3 separate regions of the Homo sapiens genome follow, and regions 1 and 3 are each linked to region 2. The links are contacts of gene promoters, found by promoter capture Hi-C in blood cells and fetal thymus (Javierre and others, 2016). All regions are on one chromosome and are shown on one strand. The core of a region is centred on a gene start or on the middle of the fragment in contact, and the rest is flanking DNA. Distances in the headings are between cores, read along the strand shown.

The links. The method cuts DNA at HindIII sites, captures the fragments that hold promoters and counts their contacts. A CHiCAGO score of 5 or more calls a contact.
Region 1: a contact is called between a fragment that was not itself captured here and the fragment with the promoter of CELF6 in region 2, in 3 of 17 cell types (M1 macrophages, M0 macrophages and monocytes). The highest score is 5.8, in M1 macrophages.
Region 3: a fragment that was not itself captured here is called in contact with the fragment with the promoter of CELF6 in region 2 in 1 of 17 cell types (neutrophils); the score reaches 7.4 in neutrophils.

What each region holds. Positions count from the first base shown.
Region 1 is chr15:72,601,942-72,604,641 of GRCh38, reverse strand. It overlaps ARIH1 (ariadne RBR E3 ubiquitin protein ligase 1), which reads right to left. Exons shown (of 14, transcript NM_005744.5): 14 at 1,655-2,700. It also overlaps the pseudogene LOC100420930. Among named protein-coding and RNA genes, the nearest start is that of MIR630, 16 kb to the right of the region's middle. The HindIII fragment of the contact is 646 bases long and covers 932-1,577 here.
Region 2 is chr15:72,318,655-72,321,480 of GRCh38, reverse strand. CELF6 (CUGBP Elav-like family member 6) reads left to right here and starts at 1,324. Exons shown (of 13, transcript NM_052840.5): 1 at 1,324-1,868. The coding sequence starts at 1,607. RefSeq lists silencers at 1,188-1,237, 1,298-1,637. The HindIII fragment of the contact is 9,541 bases long and covers 1-2,826 here.
Region 3 is chr15:72,696,989-72,699,688 of GRCh38, reverse strand. All of the region lies in intron 2 of BBS4 (Bardet-Biedl syndrome 4), which reads right to left. Among named protein-coding and RNA genes, the nearest start is that of BBS4, 12 kb to the right of the region's middle. The HindIII fragment of the contact is 7,034 bases long and covers 1-2,700 here.

The DNA.
Region 1 (2,700 bases), core at 5-2,504, 280 kb before region 2:
CTCCCTCTCAGAACGCCCCCTTCCTAGAGGGTCCCTACCCTGATCCTGGGAGCATATCTGCCCCCTTTCCAGTTGGATCCAGTCCTAGGCACTCCTACTTCCCAGCTGCTCTTCCTCCTGCACACCCACAGTACCCCTTTCTCTCAGAGTGGGCCATGGGTCCAATCAGGCATTTCCCTCGGATTCCTCTCCTTGACTGAACCAGGACTTACACAAAGTTGCCACGGGGCCTTCCGATCCCCTGCGAGTATGTCTTTCCCACCCCCCACTGCCAAAGTCCCCATCCCCGAGCCTCCCTCCGTGTGAGTCACTGCCTCCCCTGGCCCTCCTCTCCATCCCAACAGCAGCCAATCCCCCTCTTCCAGGTCTTCTCCCAGCTGACTGAGGACCTCCAGGTCATTTCTCAATCCCTCTCCTTCCTTTCCTCCTGCCCACCAGTCTTCAAATAAGTGCTGTCCTGTCCTAGGCCAACTCCTCTACCTCCCCATCCTGTCTCCTGCCTCTACAGATGCCTTTCACTCCAGTCCAGTACTAGCTATCTCTCCTGCTCACTGGTTTCACCCCTTACCCAGCCATAAACAAACCCACAGCTCCCCAGTCAGGAAAATGCTTGGTGTTCACCCTGGCCACTCCTTTAGCTGCTAATAATCTCTCCTCTTCTGTTGCAAGCCATCCCCAAAACTCAGCCTCCACCTTCTCTCATCCCCCAGATGGAGTTGCCACTACCACTACCTCCACTCTCAAGTTACATTGTGAAAGACTTGGTATTTGTTTGTTCATTAATTTAGCAACTGCGGGGATGCAGGTTTGTGCCAGATGGCCCCTGCCCTCCAAGAGGCACAGGCAAAAAAAAAAAAAAAAAAAAAAAAAAAAAAAAAAAAACAGTTCCAGGACAAGTATGCACATGGTTCTGAGAAGGGGAGCCCAAGCTTGGGCTTGCAAAGAAGCCTCCCCAGAGATGGCAAGGTCAGAAGCAAGGCCAGAAGGGCGAGCCACAGTGAGCCCAGATGATGATGACAGGGAGGCAACCACAGTTTGCCAAAAGCATTGGGCTGATTTCGTTTCGCTCTGAGAATGAATTGGTATCTGCTATCTTTGACCATGGGTGACTGACTGCAGATCATGCCTTTTTCATTCATGTTAATTCATTCCTTACCTTTTTTTTTTTTTTTTTTTTTTGAGACATGTCACCCAGGCTGGAGTGCAATGGCACTAACTAGGCTCACTGCAACCTCTGCCTCCCAGGCTCAAGCCATCCTTCCACCTCAGCCTCCCCAGTAGCTGGGACCACAGGTGTGTGCCACCACACCTGGCTAGTTTTTTTGGTAAAATTAGCCCCAGTACAGACGGGGTTTCTCCATGTTGCCCAGGCTGGTCTCGAATTCGTGAGCTCAAAGCAATCTGCCTGCCTCAGCCTCCCAAACTGCTGGGATTACAGGCATGAGCCACTGTGCCCAGCCTGGAAAAAAAATCCACTTCTAATCTAGCAAATTTTGTGTTCTTGTTTACTATTTTAGCATTAATAACACCAAGTGACTAACATTCTCCTCATGAGCGCTATGCTAGGAATAAAAGCTTGCCACGGTGGAATTATCTAAACTAGAAGAAATCAATACCATGGATCCCAACAAAAATCAACAAAAGGGACCACATGTTCATTTTATCTGATATATTTCTGGAAAAAAATGTTTGCCATAGCAAAATGGAGACGGGGAGCCAAGCAGCAAAATACATCCGTAGTGAGGTACAGAAAACAGTATCCACTAGAAATCTTTTCAGGAAGGGTGCCATTTTGGGTTGGAGAAACTCCTTGAAAGTTAATTTGGGGGAGAAGGAGAGTCCTTGAGGGACCAGGGTAAGGTCAGAACGTTTCCTGGGAGAAAGGGGGAACATTTCTCTGGCTAATAAGGGCACAGTGCCGGACAGGGTGAAGAAGAAAAAGTCAGTCAAGAGTGGTACATTTCAGAGCATGAAAGGCCTCACACTGCATAAAATAGACTACACCTTAAGACTTCCAATTTTCAGTAAGACTCTTAGGCCCATATAAAATTCAGGAGCCTGTGGATTTTTTGGTGTGGAAACCACTGAAGAGGCAGATTGTACATCTAAATTGCAAGGGCGAGACTTAAGTATGAATTGGGAATTTAGAGTGTAGCAAATTAGTCAGACATTAGATAATAAGTAAGCAAAGTTTATGAACAATTCACCAAGAAATACAAATGGCTCTTTAACATATGAAAATATAACTGTGCAAGGAAAAAAAACATGCAAATTAGTTTCCAAGAGATACTTTCCATTTCTTGCATTGGCAAAGAACAAAAATTTCACTGACATAATTGTGAGGACAAATGCATTCACTAGTGGGAATTCATAAAACTTCCATTGAGAGCAGTTTGGCAATAACTACCAAAATTAAAAATGCACATAATCTTTAACTGAATTATTTCAATTCTAGTAATTTATTCTATAGGCATAGATGTGGGAAATGACTTTACATACAAAGGTATTCAATGCAGCATTATTTGTAATAACCAATGCCTAAAACCAACCTAGATAGAGGTTAAATAAATTATAAGTCCATATTATATGGCGCATGAAAAAGAAAGAGGCAACTATTTACATATTAATATTGAATAATTGCCAAGATATATTATTAACAGATAAAGTGCAGAAAATGCATATAGTATCTGTATTAATAAA
Region 2 (2,826 bases), core at 75-2,574:
AAAAGAAAAAAAATTATCCAGGCATGGTAGCGTGCACCTGTCATCCCAGCTACTTGGGAGGCTTAGGTGGGAGGATCGCTTGAACCCAGGAGGTTGAGGCTGCAGTGATCTTAGATCGCACCACTGCACTACAGCCTGGGTGACAGAATGATAACCTATCAAAAAAAAAAAAAGGAAATCTCTATTAAAATAATTAGCAATTTTACTGAAAGAGGCATGAAAAATATATTATGGAATAAATATATAATTTATGAAGTATGTGTCTTTGTCCAAACATTGTATTACTACTTTGTGCAAACATCACTGATCCATCAAGAGAATACCTAGACATGTGCAGGAGTAATAAAATTCCATCAGCTCTGATATTTTGCCAACTTTCAGTCATATAGAAAGCGTAGCTGTACATATGTCTTTCATTTTCGTAATTCTGAACCTGTATTTGTGAAAATAAGAGGGGAACATATTTAACAAATTGTAATTTGATTTGTATCTTTTAAATGTTTAGATGCACAGTATGTCGATTTCCATTTCTTATTTTGCGCTGGGCCCAACAAATGTTGGGGTGGGCCTGGCCCTAACATCCTCGACCCTCAGAACCTCAGCTTCCTTTTCCGGAAAAAGAGAACACTCCTGAGTTCACAGAACTGGGATGAACTGGGCACCTGGTGCATAATGGGTTCTGAGTAAATACGGCTAAGTTCCCTCACTCTCCTAAGGAGGAATCCGTGTTCAAGGAGTGTTTAAGGGGTTTTTATTTTATTCTTCCTTTCTTTTTAAGGCTGCAAGGGAGACGAATGTGTCTGAGGCTCAGGGGTAAGAAAGTGGTTAAAGACACCGAAGACAGAGATGTGTGATGGGGCGGGGTGGGATTGGCTCCGAGGGACTGGCTCGATAGTGGGAATAGAGAAGAGGAATCCCCATCCACCCCCGCAGGAAACGCACCAGCGTTTGGAGGTGTGTGTGCCTGCGTGTGCCTGCGTTTGCCTGTGTGTGCCTGTGTGTGCGGTGGGGATTAGCCCCGACTCCGGCAGACACCATCACGCATGACGAAGCTGCTTCCCCTCACGCGGCCCAAGGCGCACACGCGCGATCCACGGCCACGCCCGCACACACTCGACACACACAGGGCATTCGAGGGTCCGGTTGCCATGGCGAGCAGGAGCGCGTGAGCCCAGCCGCCCCCCCCGCCCCCGGCGAGCCCAGTCAACTCCCACTCTGATTGGCGGCTGCTTCCTCATTATGCAAATCATTTGCGTAGACTCGGCGGCCAGCTGCCTGACGTCACCAAGCACGGGGGCTGGGGCTCGGGGCTCGGCTCTGGGAGAGCTCGGGCGGGAGCCCAGAGAGAGCCGCACGGGGACCTCAAGCCAGACCCCAGCGTTCAGCCGCCACCTCGGCCCGGGCCCGCCCCGCCCCGGCCCCGCCCCTTTCCTGCCCGCCCCACCCCCTCTACGCCCCTCCACCCGGACCCCGCCCCCTGGGCAGCCCCCCGCCCTCTCCGCCCGGGCTCCGCCCCCTCCCCCTGGCCCTCGCCACCGGTCCAGGGAGGGGACGGCGGGACAGGCGGGACCAGTGGGACCGGCGGGAGGGCTGACAGGGCGGGGACATGGCCGCGGCGCCGGGAGGGTCAGCGCAGCCCGCTGGCCCCGGCCCGCGCCTGGGTTTCAGCACCGCGGACAGCGGCGTCGGCATGAGCGGGCTAAACCCCGGTCCCGCCGTACCCATGAAGGACCACGACGCCATCAAGCTCTTCGTGGGGCAGATCCCGCGGGGCTTGGACGAGCAGGACCTCAAGCCGCTGTTCGAGGAGTTCGGCCGCATCTACGAGCTGACGGTGCTGAAGGACCGGCTCACCGGCCTCCACAAAGGTGCGCGGGGTCAGCCCAGCCCAGCCCAGCCCCAATCCGATTAGAGTGTGGCCCGACCCCAGCCCAGCCCCAGCCCTAGCCCTGCCGAGAGCCAGTCCAACACCAGTCCAATATCAGCCCCACCTCAGCCCAGCCCCCTTCCCAGATCACAGAATTTTCTCTCTGACATCCTCCCTCTGATTATCACTGTGGTCCCCTAACATGTTCTCCACTCTAACCTCCAAATTCCTGGCCTCCACCTCTCACATCCCAGCAGTCCCTGCCTTTCAATTGGACCTTTCCACCACCTCTCCCATCAGACCTAAAATTCTGGAATTTGAAAACTTATTCCACCTTCTAGATCTCGAATACCCTCAATTTCCCAAACCCTGAGCCCAAACACTCCTGAATCCTCCATCTGGTGGCACCTCACTCAGGCCTAACCACCCACATGCATATCTTGGACTTGCACCCCTCCTCTGGCCTCCTAGTCCGGCCATCCCCCTCAAGAGCCTTCTTTTGACTCTCAGACTGCCAACCTAAAACACCGCAGACCCAAACCCTCCCCTTCTTCAGAACCCAGACCTGTCTAACACAAAATCCAATTCAATTCCCAGGAGGCTCTCAGTTCCAGACACCCCCTCATGTTCAACAACAGCCCCAATCTCTCCTGCCCTTCGCCAGAATCCCAATGCACTCTACCTCTTTTGATTTCAGTTCAGAACCCTGACCTCAGCTGGGAACTCCTGCCACCCTGTGTCCCTTTCTTCTTGGATTTCTCTCAGCTAAATCCACACTTCTTTCCTTCTCTAATCCCCTCACTCCTGTGCCTCTTCTTTGCTCCTCCCCAGTCCTCTTTATGGCCTCTTTCTTTCCCTCCCCTCACAGGCTGGTCCCAGTCCAGGCCCATTCTCAGGGTGAGTCAGGCTGAAGAGACAGAAGGAGATCTTCTCCCTGCCCTTTCTAGAGAGATACACGG
Region 3 (2,700 bases), core at 126-2,625, 380 kb before region 2:
TCAAAATCAATTTATACAGGCAGAAATCAGAATGGTGGTTGCATCTGGCGAAGTGAAGCAGAAGACTTACTGGAAAAAGGCATGAGGAAACTTTCTAAGTGATAAAAATGTTTAATTTGATCTGATGATTACAGGAATATAAATATGTACATGAGTATACATATCTGTCAAAATTCAAGAGTGTGTATTTCAGATTTAAAGATTTACTAGCATTGAAATTAAAAATAATAGGGAAAAATTAGATATATACTACCTTCCATTTAAATTAGAAGTTAACATTGTTCCTCAAAAATTAAACAGAATTGGGCCAAGCACGGTGGCTCACACCTGTAATCCCAGAACTTTGGGAGGCTTTGGGGTGGATCATGAAGTCAGGAGCTCGATACCAGTCTGGCCAACATAGTGAAACCCCGTTTCTACTAAAAAGACAAAAAATTAGCCAGGCATGGTGGTGGGCACCTGTAATACCAGCTACACGGGAAGCTGAGGCAAGAGAATCACTTGAACCCGGGAGGCAGAGGTTGCAGTGGAAAAAAAAAAAAATGCTTAGCTCATCCATTTAATCAGTGGAGCGGTGGAGCAAAAGCCAGATTACAATAGACAAATAGACTCAGAGGTGAGGATACCAAGACAAGTAAGATAAACTATTCTTTCAGAAAGCTAATCAATGAAAGTCATTCACTATCACAGTAGAAATAGTGAGATTTGGTAACTACTTATCAAAGACTGTGACAGTGGTTTCATGTAGACTTTAGGGTGAATTAGGTAACAACTAAATTACCTTGTAACTCTATAATTCTGTATACACAAGAACCAAAATTAGCAAAAGGAAAAGATTAATGAAGTGAAGAGCATGTACAGCATCTACAAAATCAAAATCACGTCTGAGAACCAAATATATACACAGTAATTAGTCTGTAGAATAAATTATTATATACAGTACAGGAAATGACATATTTCTAGAATATCTACAAAATTCCTAGTTTCTACAACTTTTAAATTCTTTAAGAATTACTGACATATAAAGACTCTAAGGAAAACAACCCAAATGCCCATCAACAGACAGATAAACAAAATGTGATATATACATACACTAGAATATTATTCAGCCTTAAAAAGGAATGAAATTCTGACACATGCTACAACATGAATGAATCTTGAAAATGCTGAGTGGAATAAGCCAGGCAGAAAAGGGCAAATATTGTATGATTCACCTTACATGAAAAACCTAGAATAGTCAAATTCATAGATACAGAAAATAGAATGGAGATTACCAGGATCTGGGGAGGCAAGGGGATGTGGAGATTTATTGTTTAATGGGTACAGTGTTTCTGTTTGGAATGATGAAACACTTCTAGAAATGGACAGTGGTGATGGCTGCACAACTTTGTAAATGTACTTAATGCCACTGACTTACACACTTAAAAATGGTAAATTTTATATATATTTTACAATAATAAATTATTCTATTAAACAATTAGTCTAAAACCAGATATCAAGCTGAGATCAGGTTTTTTACATAGTGAGTATGTTGTCTCAGGTTGTGGACAAAACTCATCCTCAGCTATGGCCACCCCAAAATGGGTAAAGTTTTCAATGAAGACTCCTTTAAGGAAGAAAATAGACTCAAGCAGTAAATCAGTTCGCTCACCTCAATGATGGGTAAGATCTTCAACTGAAAGCCAGAAGAAAGTCACCTAAGGTTACATCATGGGGCAAAAGGAAGAGGACTTCAGTAGCCTCATGTAGCATATTATTTTCTCAGAACCACCAAGTAGTTCTGATCAATAATTTCATTGCCTGTTCTTGAAAAAGTCCTGATATATTTGGACAAAAATACCAAACAGAAATCTGTTTATCCCTTCCACAGTTGGCAGTCATCACCCTCAAAACTAAAGAGTCAAACTTTGAGAGAATATGGACCTCTCAAGCTGAGGAGGAAAGAGTGAGGGAGAGGCACAACATCCATTCTCAGTCAAAATGCCTCCAATTGCTACTTGTTCAAATAACGTCTCTCAGCTTGCTAATCCAACTTCTGTGTGAATTCTTTATGCACTTACCAACTTTCTGCCTTCTATTTCCAAGTATTACACTACTTAACCAGAGCAGTGGTTCTCAAGTGGGAACAATTTTGCCCCAGAAGGAATAACTGGCAACATCTGGAGACACTTTTGGTTGTTACAATTAAGTGCTACTGTCATCTACCAGGTAGAAGCCAGGGATGTTGTTAACCATCCTACAATATACAGGACAACTCCAACAAAGATTTATCTTGCTCAAAATATCATTCATGCCAAAGCTGAAAAAACCTGAACTAGAGGTATAAAAAAAGTCTAAGGATTTCACAGTAAAATGTGACAGCTTTTTATTCAAAGTACTACTTTTTTAATTTGTTAAAGTCCCGTTAATACTTAAGGATGATAGTTCTTCTCTTTTCTTAATACCTCCCTATATTGGGCTGGATGCAGTGGCTCATGCCTGTAATCCCAGTACTTTGGGGGGCCAAAGCAGGTGGATCACTTGAGGTCAGGAGTTCAAGACCAGCCTGGCCAACGTGGTGAAACCCCATCTGTACTAAAAATAAAAAAATTAGCCAGGCATGGTGGTTCATGCCGATAATCCCAGCTACTTGGGAGGCTGAGACAGCAGAATCACTTGAACCCAGGAGGTGGAGGTTGCAGTGAGCTGAGACTGCACCAC